2 separate regions of the Homo sapiens genome follow, and region 1 is linked to region 2. The links are contacts of gene promoters, found by promoter capture Hi-C in blood cells and fetal thymus (Javierre and others, 2016). All regions are on one chromosome and are shown on one strand. Each heading gives the region's core, a stretch centred on a gene start or on the middle of the fragment in contact. The rest is flanking DNA. Distances are from core to core; before and after follow the strand shown. Region 1 overlaps RPRD2 (regulation of nuclear pre-mRNA domain containing 2). Region 2 holds the start of PRPF3 (pre-mRNA processing factor 3).

Region 1 (6,068 bases), core at 1-2,500, 150 kb after region 2:
TGGGAGGCTGAGGCGGGCAGATCACCTAAGGTCAGCAGTTCAAGACCAGCCTGGCCAACCAGGTGAAATAACATCTCTACTAAAAATATGAAAATTAGCCAGGTGTGGTGACACACACCTGTAGTGTGCTGAGATCGCAGTAAGCCGGAATCACGCTACTGCACTCCAGCCTGGACGACAGAGCAAGACTCAGTCCAAAAAAAAAAAAAAAAAAAAAAATTTTTTTATGACGCTTCAAGAACATAGTGAAACCCTGTCTCTACAACGGAATTAAAAATTAGCGCCGGGCGCGGTGGCTCACGCCTGTAATCCCAGCACTTTGGGAGGCTGAGGCAGGCGGATCATGAGTTCAGGAGATCGATACCATCCTGGCTAACACAGTGAAACCCCGACTCTACTAAAAATACAAAAAATTAGCCGGGCGTGGTGGCGGGCACCTGTAGTCTTGGCTACTTGGAAGGCTGAGGCAGGAGAATGGTGTGAACCCAGGAGGTGGAGGTTGCAGTGAGCCAAGATTGCCCCACTACACTCCAGCCTGGGCAAAAGAGCAAGACTCTGTCTCAAAAAAAAAAAAAAAAAAAAAATTAGCTGGGCATAGTGGTGCATGCCTGTAGTTCCAGCTACTCAGGGGGCTAAGGCAGGAGGATCACTTGAGCCCAGGAGTTCAAGGCTGCAGTACGCTGTGGTCACCCCACTGTACTCCAACCTAAGTGATGAGACCCTGCCTCAAAAAAAAAAAAAAAAAAATTTCTGAGACATGAATATATCTTTTTTTGTCCTAATGTTTTATAGAGGCTTCATTATTTATTATTTTATTTATTATTTTATTAGAGTCTTAGATGTAGTATTTTTGTTTTCACCTACCTATAATCTCTCTCATTTGACCCTTTCTGTTCAGCTTTACTAATTATGTTTTGTGCATGACACTGCCTGTTTCTAACCTTTTTTCATAAATCTTTCCTACTCTCTACTCTCTTATGCTCCAGATACCAATGAAATCCTTTTTAAGTACCGTAGTATAATTATGAAATGAATTACAAATACCAGGGCAATATATTCAGTGTAGTGATTTACTCTATATCAGTAGTCTCAACCAAAGGCCTCCAGGGAGGACACTTGGCAATATTTGGAGACCTTTTTAGTTGTCTCAACTGGGGTAATGGTAGGGGTGCTACTGCCTCTAGTGAGTAGAGGCCAGGAGGATGCTCCTAAATATCCTACAATGTGTGAGACAGCCCCAACAATAAAGAATTATCTAGCCCAAAGTGTCAGTAGTGCTGAGGTTGAGAAACCCTGCTCTCTATCAAAGGAGTGGTGTAAAACAGTTTCCTAAACTGTTATGTAAGTGGATCATTCAAGCATATTATAGTGAACTTTGTCTGGAGGTGCAGAAGAATTTTGTTACACAGAACTAAATAGTATTAAGTAATAATCCACAGCCCCTATCTATTGGCATCAGCAATAAAGAATTGATGATGACTGCAGCACATGTTGTACTACTAATATCAGGGACAATTTGAGAGTTTGACATGTTTATGCTTTCTCCCTTTTTATTTTTATTTGTTTGTTTGTTTTTGAGACGGGGACTTGCTCTGTTGCCCAGGCTGGAGTGCAGTGGTGTGATCTCGGCTCACTGCAACCTCTGCCTCTCGGGTTCAAGTGATTCTCTTGCCTCAGCCTCTCGAGTAGCTGGTATTACAGGCTCACACCACCATGCCCGGCTAATTTTTGTATTTTTAGTAGACACGGGGTTTCGCCATGTTGGCCAGGCTGGTCTCGAACTCCTGACCTCACGTGATCCACCTGCCTCGACCTCCCAAAGTGCTGGGATTACAGGTGTGAACCACCGTGCCTGGCCGATGTGAAATTTCTGATGAGGCAAAATTTGAACAGAACTAGGTTCCTTATGGAATGTGGAATTCTCTTTGACTTTTAAAAGGATTGTATCTAGCAAGTTAAATAGATGTATTTCCTCGAAGACTGTTAATGAAATCCCAGAACTTTGTTCTGATTGTGTCATCCACAGCCCTAGGTATTGACAGATTTATAACACAAAAGAGAGACTTCAGGCCCGGTGTGGTGGGTCACACCTGTAATTCCAGCACTTTGGGGACGGGTGGATCACCTGAGGTCAGGAGTTCAAGACCAGCCTGGCCAACAGGGTAAACCTGTCTTTCCAAAAAAAAATACAAAAAAATTAGCTGGGCGTGGTGGCTCACAGCTGTAACCCCAACTACTTGGGAGGCTGAGGTAGGAGAATCGCTTGAACCCGGAAGGCAGAGGTTGCAGTGAGCCAGCCTGGGCGACGAGCAAAACTCTGTCTCAAAAAAAGAGAAACTTCAGTGGGCAAAGGAGCAGAGTATGACTTGTTATGATTAAAGAGCAAACTTTTGGCTGGGCGCAGTGGCTCATGCCTGTAATCCTAACACTTTGGGAGGCCACGATGGGAGGATCACTTGAGGCCAGGAGTTTGAGACCAGCCTGGTCAATATAGCAAAACCCCTATCTCTATTGTTTTTAAGAATTTTTAAAAATAATTAAAAAAAAAAAAGATTGGAGAACAGTAATATTTAGTGGTGAGAGACAATTTTACCTATTACCAGAAATCTGAGTAGTATATCTATCTTAAAAAGATGTTCTTTTGAAGAAGTTATCCCAAAATATCTGAAAAATATGCTGAAATATCTTCTAAAAATCATATTACATTATTATATATCACATTCTAGTGTTTGAGGACTTCTGGGTTTTGTGAGAACAGTGATTACTAAGAATTAAATCAGGCTGGGCATGGTGGCTCACGCCTGTAATCTCAGCACTTTGGGAGGCTGAAGTGGGACAATCACTTGAGCCCAAGATTTTGAGATCAGCCTGCGCAACATGGTGAGACCTTGTCTCTACTAAAAATAAAAAAGTTAGCTGGGCATAGTGATGTACACCTGTGGTCCCAGCTACTCAGGAAGCTAAGGCAGATAAATCTTTTGAGCCCAAGAGGTTGAGGTTACAGTGAGCTATGATCGCACCACTGCACTCCAGCCTGGGTGACAGAGCAAGAGCCTGTCTCTTGAAAAAAAAAAAGGAAACTATTAGTAGGGATGAATTATGTGGCTAGGGAACTTTTTTTGGAATGAAACATGCCGATTTTTTTTTTTCTTCAGAAGGATCATAACTAAAGTAAACATTATTTCAGTTGTTTGGATATTACTGAATATTGGATAACAATAAAGACCATCCAACATTATTTAGAAATAAATGGCTTTAAAATGTTACAAGGATGGAGGGGACTTGAAATTCTTTAGGCCAAATCTGTTAGAATATGGGTTAAAATTGAAATTTTGAAGAAATGTTAATTGAAATATCACATGAAGTATTTTCTTTAATCATATAATTACTAAGGAACAATGTTAGTGTATTCAGTGACTAAAAGCTATAAATTTGGGTGAAATGTATATTAAAAATTTTTTTAATTAATTTATTTTTAAATACAGAGACTCACTTTGCCACCCAGGCTGGTGTGCAGTGGCAGAGTCATAGTTAGTTTACTGTAACCTTGAACTGGGCACAAGTGATTCTCCAGCCTCAGCCTCCTGAGTAGCTAGGACTACAGGCATGCACCATCATGCCCAGCTGATTTTTAAATTTTTTTTAGAGACAGAGTCTCTCTGTGTTTCCCAGGCTGGTCTCAAACTCCTGGCCTCAAGCCATCCTCCTGCCTCTGCTGCCCAAAATGCTAGGATTACAGGCATGAGCCACCGTGCCCAGCCAAAAGTCTTCATTTGTGACCAGAAATTGGGTAAATTTTTAAAAATATGATTGAATTTATAGAACCTTCTGTTATCTTTTTGTCAAATATTTTTCTAAAAAATTTTCTACAGGAGCAGTTTGCTTTGTTGAACTTCAGCCTTTGCCCCAAAGAATTCTTTCTCAGTGCTTCTGAGAAAGTTTTGACTGTCAGTGAACACAGTTAAATTCCATCATTGTCAATCTGGACTAAATAATCCTTGGATTTTCCACACTATAAAATGGGGATTGTGTGTTTTCTTGTGAAAGGACCAGTGTCCCTGGTGGTCTGTCTTTGTAAGTCTTTGTGGTGTATGTTTGTTATAGCTACATTTTACAACCAAAACGGATGGTTGAAAGCATTGTTTTTCAAAAAGTAACAACAGTCTACCAAGAGGTGCTTCTTGAAAAAGGTGTTTGCTGTTCAGATAAGTTTCTGAAATTTGCATTTGCCTGTCTCCCGCTTGAAAATAACAATGTATATTAACTTATTAGAGATAATAAGTTTGAAGGTTGAAGGTTGGTTTGAAGGTTGGACAGGAAAGGTAGAACAGATCTGTTTGCATTTAGAGAAACACTTCCACAGATCAAACATTAAGAAATACTGGCTTAAAGTGTTGTTTTAAGAATAACTTTGCCTCCTTTCTTTTCCTGCTTTGCCTAACTTAAACTATGAATGATTCTGACATTAAAATCTCCCCCTTCCTGTTGCCTTTTATTGTGCCATGTTGGGCTGATTTCTGGACTGTACTGGAAACATTTCAGTGATTTGCTCTTTATTGATAAAATAGGCCCTGTATTTTCTGTGACATTTAGCCATTGCTTGTTTGGTCTGGATTCCTTTTGGCCTTACACTTTGTCTATCTGGTTCCCACCAAAATGAATGAGAGTATCTGATTAGCCTACATTGTTTGCATTGTATGATAGGGAGTTGTTCTTTTTAACCCCTCTAATCTTTGTTTCTACAGGCCTGTCATCTTTACTTCAGAGTGTTACTGGGAACCCAGTTCCAGCCAGTGAAGCTGCCTCACAGAGCACTTCAGCCTCCCCTGCCAACACCACAGTCTCTACCATAAAGGGAAGAAATCTGCCCTCCAGTGCCCAACCTTTTATTCCCAAAAGCTTCAACTATTCTCCTAACTCATCAACTTCTGAAGTCTCTTCAACTTCAGCCAGCAAGGCCTCAATTGGGCAAAGCCCAGGGCTCCCAAGCACTACTTTTAAACTACCTTCCAACTCTTTGGGGTTTACAGCTACCCACAATACTAGCCCTGCTGCCCCACCTACTGAAGTTACCATCTGCCAATCTTCAGAGGTCTCCAAGCCAAAGCTGGAGTCAGAGTCCACCTCCCCAAGCCTGGAAATGAAGATTCACAACTTCTTAAAAGGTAATCCTGGTTTCAGTGGCTTAAACTTAAACATCCCAATCCTGAGCAGTTTGGGGTCCAGCGCCCCATCAGAGAGCCATCCCTCAGACTTCCAGCGTGGCCCTACTAGCACCTCAATCGACAACATTGATGGAACCCCTGTACGGGATGAACGGAGTGGGACACCCACCCAGGATGAGATGATGGACAAGCCCACATCCAGCAGTGTAGATACTATGTCCCTGCTTTCTAAGATCATTAGCCCTGGTTCCTCAACACCCAGCAGTACAAGATCACCACCCCCTGGGAGAGATGAAAGCTACCCCCGAGAGCTCTCCAATTCTGTATCTACATATCGACCCTTTGGTCTGGGCAGTGAATCTCCCTATAAGCAGCCTTCTGATGGAATGGAGAGACCATCTTCCCTGATGGACTCTTCACAGGAAAAGTTCTACCCAGATACTTCTTTCCAAGAAGATGAGGATTACCGAGATTTTGAGTATTCAGGGCCTCCACCCTCTGCCATGATGAACCTAGAGAAGAAACCAGCCAAATCTATCCTGAAATCAAGCAAGCTGTCTGATACCACCGAGTACCAGCCAATTCTGTCCAGTTATAGCCACAGAGCCCAAGAATTTGGGGTAAAGTCTGCCTTCCCTCCATCTGTAAGGGCCCTCCTGGACTCTAGTGAGAACTGTGACCGTCTCTCATCTTCCCCTGGGCTATTTGGTGCCTTCAGCGTAAGAGGGAATGAACCTGGGTCTGACCGGTCACCATCACCGAGTAAGAATGATTCATTTTTCACCCCTGACTCCAACCACAATAGCTTGTCTCAATCTACCACTGGGCATCTCAGTTTGCCACAGAAGCAGTACCCAGACTCTCCTCACCCAGTCCCACATCGTTCCCTTTTCTCTCCGCAGA
Region 2 (6,069 bases), core at 1,245-3,744:
TTTTTTTTTTTTTTTGAGACAGAGTCTCGTTCTGACACCAGGCTGGAACGCAGTGGTGCAATCTCGGCTGGCTGCAACCTCCACCTCCCGGGTTCAAGTGATTCTCCTGCCTCAGCCTCCGGAGTAGCTGGGACTACAGGCGCGTGCCACCACGCCCAGCTGATTTTTGTATTTTTAGTAGAGACGGGGTTTCACCATGTTGGCTAGCATGGTCTCGATCTCTTGGCCTCGTGATCTGCCCACCTCGGCCTCCCAAAGTGCTGGGATTACAGGCGTAAGCCACCGCGCCCGACCCTCTATTCTCTTTTGTTGGTTTACCTGCCTGTTCTTACGCCAGTACCACACTGTGTCTTACACATTACATTTAATCCTCACGATACCTTTTTGAAGTAGAGATTCTTATTCTATAATTGAGGAAACAATCTCAGAAAAAATTACCTGAAGGAAACACAGCTAGTAACCGGAAAGCTACAGTTTAAATGTATCCAATTCTAAAAATTGGAAATAAAATCAGTTTTGTTTTGTCGAGATGGAGTCTCCCTCTGTCGCCCAGGCTGCAGTGCAGTGGCGCGATCTTGGCTCACTGCAACCTCCACCTCCCGGGTTCAAGCAATTCTCCTGCCTCGGCCTCCTGAGTAGCTGGGATTACAGGTGCCCACCACCACACCCAGCTAATTTTTGCATTTTTTTTAGTAGGGATGGGGTTTCACCATGTCGGCAGACTGGTCTCAAACTCCTGACCTCAAGTGATCCACCCGCCTCGACCTCCCAAAGTGTTGGGATTACAGGCGTAAGCCACCACACCTGGCCTAAAACCAGTTTCTAGAAACACATTTCTCCATAGGGAATTGAACGCAGACTGTTAGAAGCACCAAAACAAAATAAATTTACAACAACCCTGCAATGTTGAAACTCATTAACCCATTCAACAGACTTTTTGAGTGAATATTTTGTGAGACATTGGTGTTAGAAGCTGTAGGTGGGGAAACTGATTTGTGAATAAGTTGAGCAGTAGGTTCAAACTCCCCCAACTTGTTCCTTCAGAGCCAGGCTTTATCCTGTTATGTCGTGCTGCCCCATCAGGGAAGGTGGGGCTTGGTATGTACATTGTTATCTTTAGATACAAAAATCTCCTACTATCTGGGGAATGTGAATAACCTCCCTGAAGAACAACTGCATCTTCTAGTCAGCCTACCACCAAGAAGACATTTTGGAACTTTAGTTTGGATAGTTTATAATATAAAAATAATGGAATTTTTTCCATTTCTCATATAAGAAATTGTGTCATAATACTGGACAATCTTTTTCCAAACTATCTTTGTCCACACACATGTTGTTATGAATCATCGATTTAAAGAGTCAGTAGGGGCCGGGCGCGGTGGTTCAACCCTGTAATCCCAGCACTTTGGGAGGCCGAGGTGGGCGGATCACGCGGTCAAGAGATGGAGACCATCCTGGCCAACATGGTGAAACCCCGTCTCTACTAAAAATACAAAAGTTAGCTGGACGTGGTGGTCGCGCGCCTGTAGTCCCATCTACTCGGGAGGCGGAAGTTTCAGTGAGCCGAATGCACTCCAGCCTGACGACAGAGCGAGACTCCGTCTCAAAAAATAAAAAATAAAAATAAAAAATAAAGGGTCAGTAGGTTAGAGCCTCATTTTGGAGAGAAGTTAATATATAGACCTATTGATAGAATGGAGAAAACAATACTGGTAGGTCTCACTTGTCATTTATTGAGCCCAAAGTGCTGGGATTACAGGCGTGAGCCACGGCGCCCGGCCTGACACCACTGTTAAATTAGGGAGAAAGGGTTTACTTTCTACCAGAAAGGCTGTGTTTGAACACAAACGCAGAAGCCTCGCTCTTCATTCTAGCCTAAGTTTACTTTTGCGCACTTATTCTCCATATGAGGAAAACAGCAAGTAGCCCAATTTCCGCTTCAGGAAGTTAAAGACATTAACTTGGCAGAAATCGGCCGGGCGCGGTGGCTCACGCCTGTAATCCCAGCACTTTGGAAGGCTGAGGCGGGCGGATCACGAGGCCAGGAGATCGAGACCATCCTGGCTAACACGGTGAAACCCCGGCTCTACTAAAAATACAAAAAATCAGCCGGGCGTGGTGGCGGGCGCCTGTAGTCCCAGCTACTCGGGAGGCTGAGGCAGGAGAATGGCGTGAACCCGGGAGGCGGAGCTCGCAGTGAGCCGAGATCGCGTCACTGCACTCCAACCTGGGCGACAGAGCGAGACTCCGTCTCAAAAAAAAAGCTAAAAAAAAAACCTTGGCAGAAATCTAGCTAATAGGTTTAGCCTGGGAAATAGAAAGCAAGGAAATTGCTCAGGGAAACTTTTCGGTTCTGCGACGCATGCGTTCAGCCTCCAAGAAAGTGGCAAATACGGCTGCGCGAATTGGCGGCCCGGCCCTCCTTGGTCACGTGTTGGGAGACAGCGGCGTGGCGGCGGCGGTGGCGGTAGCGACGGCACGCCGTAGGGCGGTCAGAAGGTTTCCGGTTCCGGTGTAACGTTCGGGCTCCGTCTCAGGGGCTGAAGTTTGTGAGGTGAGTAGTGGCCCCGGGCCCACAGAGGGTAATTCCAGTCCGCGCCACTGTGGCCGGGGACTCAGTCCAAGGGGAGGACCGAAGCGGGAGGGTTCAGCGGGAAGGAGTGTGAAAGGAGTACCTGGTTTGGTGGGAGAAGAGGTTGGAATGAGATTGTTGAGAGGAAAAGGGCGGGGGCGGGAAGGAGACCGGGTTGGGAGACCAGCTCTGGGGTGAGGAGTTTAGGTAGAACAAGGTAGAGTAAGAGACTGGTTGGAGTGACGGAGAGAGTAAAAATGAAGATTAGCGGGGGAGTGGGGGGCTGCAGAGGGAAACTCAGGTTGTAGCAAACAAGAGCACGGAGTAAGGAATTCCTTCTGAAGACTGGATTTGGATTCTGCTGCCTGCTCATTGAGAGGAGAGATCATTGTACCTCGCTTTCCTTCCGCACCCCCACTACCCCCGCACCTCGCAGTTATTGTTGAGCATTTGATTAGTGACAAGGCTAATTACCGTTTGAAACTTTTTTATCCATTGGCTGTTTAGTTTGCACGTCATCTTATGGAGGTAACAGTGGCACCTCATTTATTGCTTTGGGCTTTCAAATTGCTTATACTTTCTAGCCTATCATTCAATTCTAGTGGAATATAAGACCCGTTAAGGTGAGGACTCTTGTTAGTTTTGCTCACTGTTTTATGTATCCACCGCACCTAGTACATTGCTTGACACTTAGTAGTTACTCAATAAATATTTATTGAATGAATTAGGATGTAAATATGGCAGTACTCATTTTGTAAGATGGTAAACTGTGGCTCCAAAGAATTACTTAACTTGCCCAAGGGCTTGTAAATGGTGGGGCTCAGTGTCCCAACTGTTTCTGTGTGAACTCTTGTTTTCACTTTCTATGGCATCTGGATATGCCGCTTTTGTGCAATACATGTGTAATATGTAGAAATTGGTACGCTGTATGTCTACTCATTGTGGGGTAATAGAACCACCATAGAATTACTCACGTAACTTGTCACTGAGGCAGAAAATCTTTCAGTCTTAGTTTCATCACTTCAATCTACTAGCTTCCTTTGGATATACCAAAAGTGAGTCTATTTGGCATCAAGTCTTATAGACTCTAGTATAGAGGCTAAACTTACCAAGAATGTAGAAGTTAATCAGACTGGATTTTTTGGAGAAAAGATGTCTTAAAACATCTTGAAAGATGATTCCCAGATCTTTGATAAGTGGCACTGCTGGGAATAGCTGAGCTTGGAAATTGAGGTCAGTCAATTTATTGACTCCCATTTAGACACCTTTTTTTTTTTTCCCCGGGACGGAGTCTTGCTCTGTCGCCCAGGCTGGAGTGCAGTGGTGCGATCTCGGCTCACTGCAACCTCCGCCTTCCATGTTCAAGGGATTCTCCTGTCTCAGCCTCCAGAGTAGCTGGGATTACAGGTGCAGGTCACCACGCCCAGCTAATATTTGTATTTTTAATAGGGATGCGGTTTCACCATGTTGGCCAGGCTGGTCTCGAACTCCTGACGTCAGATAATCCACCCGCCTTGGCCTCCCAAAGTGTTGGGATTACAGGCGTGAGCCACCGCACCTGGCTTTTTTTTTTTTTTTTTTTTTTTTGGAGACACAGTTTCACTCTGTCGCTCAGGCTGGAGTGCACATGATTTTGGCTCACCGCAACCTCCGCCTCCTGGGTTCAAGTGATTTTCCTGCCTCTGCCTCATAAGTAGCTGGGATTACAGGTGCCCACCACCTCACCTGGCTAATTTTTGTATTTTTAGTAGAGACAGGTGCAGTGGGTCACGCCTGTAATCCCAGAACTTTCGGAGGTCAAGGTGGGCAGATCACTTGAGGTAAGGCATTACCTGGCCGATATGGTGAAACCGTGTCTTTATTAAAACTACGAAATTGGCCAGGCGTGGTGGTGCATGCCTGTAGTCCCAGCTACTTGGGAGGCTGAGGCAGGAGAATCAAGTGAACCCAGGAGATGGAGGTTGCAGTGAACCAAGATTACGCCACTGCACTCCAGCCTGGGCGACGGAGTGAGACTCTGTCTCAAAATAAAAATGAGGGTATTCTTTTCTGAGCTGAAGGATCATCAAGTCAGCTGATGGAGACCCTGTAGATTGAACATGATAATTACCTGTATGCAGAATTCCCACTGGGATGAATATGACCACAGAGAAATGTGACAGAACATTCTTTTTTTTTTTTTTTGAGACGGAGTCTTACTCTGTTGCCCAGGCTGGAGTGCAGTGGCGCGATCTTGGCTCACTGCAACCTCTGCTGCCTGGGTTCAAGTGATTCTCTTGTCTCAGCCTCCCGAGTAGCTGGGATTACAGGCGCCTGCCACCATGCCCAGCTAAATTTTTTTGTAGTTTTTAGTAGAGATGGGGTTTCACCATCTTGGCCAGGCTGGTCTTGAACTCCTGACCTCGTGATCCACCTGCCTCAGCCTCCCAAAGTGCTGGGATTACAGGCGTGAGCCACCGCGCCCGGCCAGAACATTCTTAAAGATCATGAGATTTAATTTAATATCTAAGATGACTGACCTGGATAAACCCTCTTTTACTTGCATACCTTAAAAGAAGGGAATCCTACATAAGTCAGGGTTGGGTTAGGGAATGCCTGCCTGGAAGTAGGAAGAATGGAAAAGCTGGCCTCTGGATGGGCTTTTTTAGTTCTGTTTTAGTGTTACTAGGTTTGCAAGTCCTTGTTGATATGACAGGATCAAGAAAGAAGCTAGAACTAATTTCTCAGACTTAGCTTATTCACAGAGTTTGTTTATTCCGCAGATTTCATTGATCAACTTAAGAGTTAGAATTAAAAATCAAATGGGATCTCTTTCTGCTTTGAGATATGGTTCTTGGGGAAAATATTTGCCTTCAAATGAGTTGGAAAAACTTGTCTAGGGATTGAGAATAGGGCTGGGGAATGCATTCCTGATGTACTAACCATTTCCCTGGATCACTTTAGTCTTTTTTTTTTTTGTAGAGAGAGTCTTGCTTTGTCGCCCAGGCTGGAGTGCAGTGGTGCGATTTTGACTTGTTGCAAGCTCTACCTCCCTGGTTATTCCCCTGCCTCAGCCTCCCAAGTAGCTGGGATTACAGGCACATGCCACCACGCCCAGCTAATTTTTTTGTATTTTTAGTAGAGGCAGGGTTTCACCATGTTGGCCAGACTGGTCTCGAACTCTTGACCCCAGGCAGTCCATCCACCTTGGCCTCCCAAAGTGCTGGGATTACAGGCATGAGCCACTGCACCCAGCCCACTTTAGTCTTTTCTTATTCTCTAACTTGTCTCTTTTTTTTTTTTAGGTGTAGTATTGAGTCCTGTTTGAGCTATTGTTCTCTTTTTCCTGAAAAATGGCACTGTCAAAGAGGGAGCTGGATGAGCTGAAACCATGGATAGAGAAGACAGTGAAGAGGGTCCTGGGTTTCTCAGAGCCTACGGTGGTCACAGCAGCATTGAACTGTGTGGGGAAGGGCATGGACAAGAAGAAGGCAGCCGGTATGTACCTTTCTGCATCT

The links. Contacts are between HindIII fragments. The CHiCAGO score rates a contact against its expected background, and 5 or more counts as called.
Region 1: a fragment that was not itself captured here is called in contact with the fragment with the promoter of PRPF3 in region 2 in 1 of 17 cell types (M1 macrophages); the score reaches 5.5 in M1 macrophages.

What each region holds. Positions count from the first base shown.
Region 1 is chr1:150,465,816-150,471,883 of GRCh38, forward strand. It overlaps RPRD2 (regulation of nuclear pre-mRNA domain containing 2), which reads left to right. Exons shown (of 11, transcript NM_015203.5): 11 at 4,746-6,068. Among named protein-coding and RNA genes, the nearest start is that of TARS2, 19 kb to the right of the region's middle. The HindIII fragment of the contact is 7,293 bases long and covers 1-4,897 here.
Region 2 is chr1:150,319,039-150,325,107 of GRCh38, forward strand. PRPF3 (pre-mRNA processing factor 3) reads left to right here and starts at 2,495. Exons shown (of 16, transcript NM_004698.4): 1 at 2,495-2,554; 2 at 5,857-6,049. The coding sequence starts at 5,905. RefSeq lists enhancers at 1,609-2,174, 2,304-2,353, 2,544-2,593. The HindIII fragment of the contact is 20,070 bases long and covers 1-6,069 here.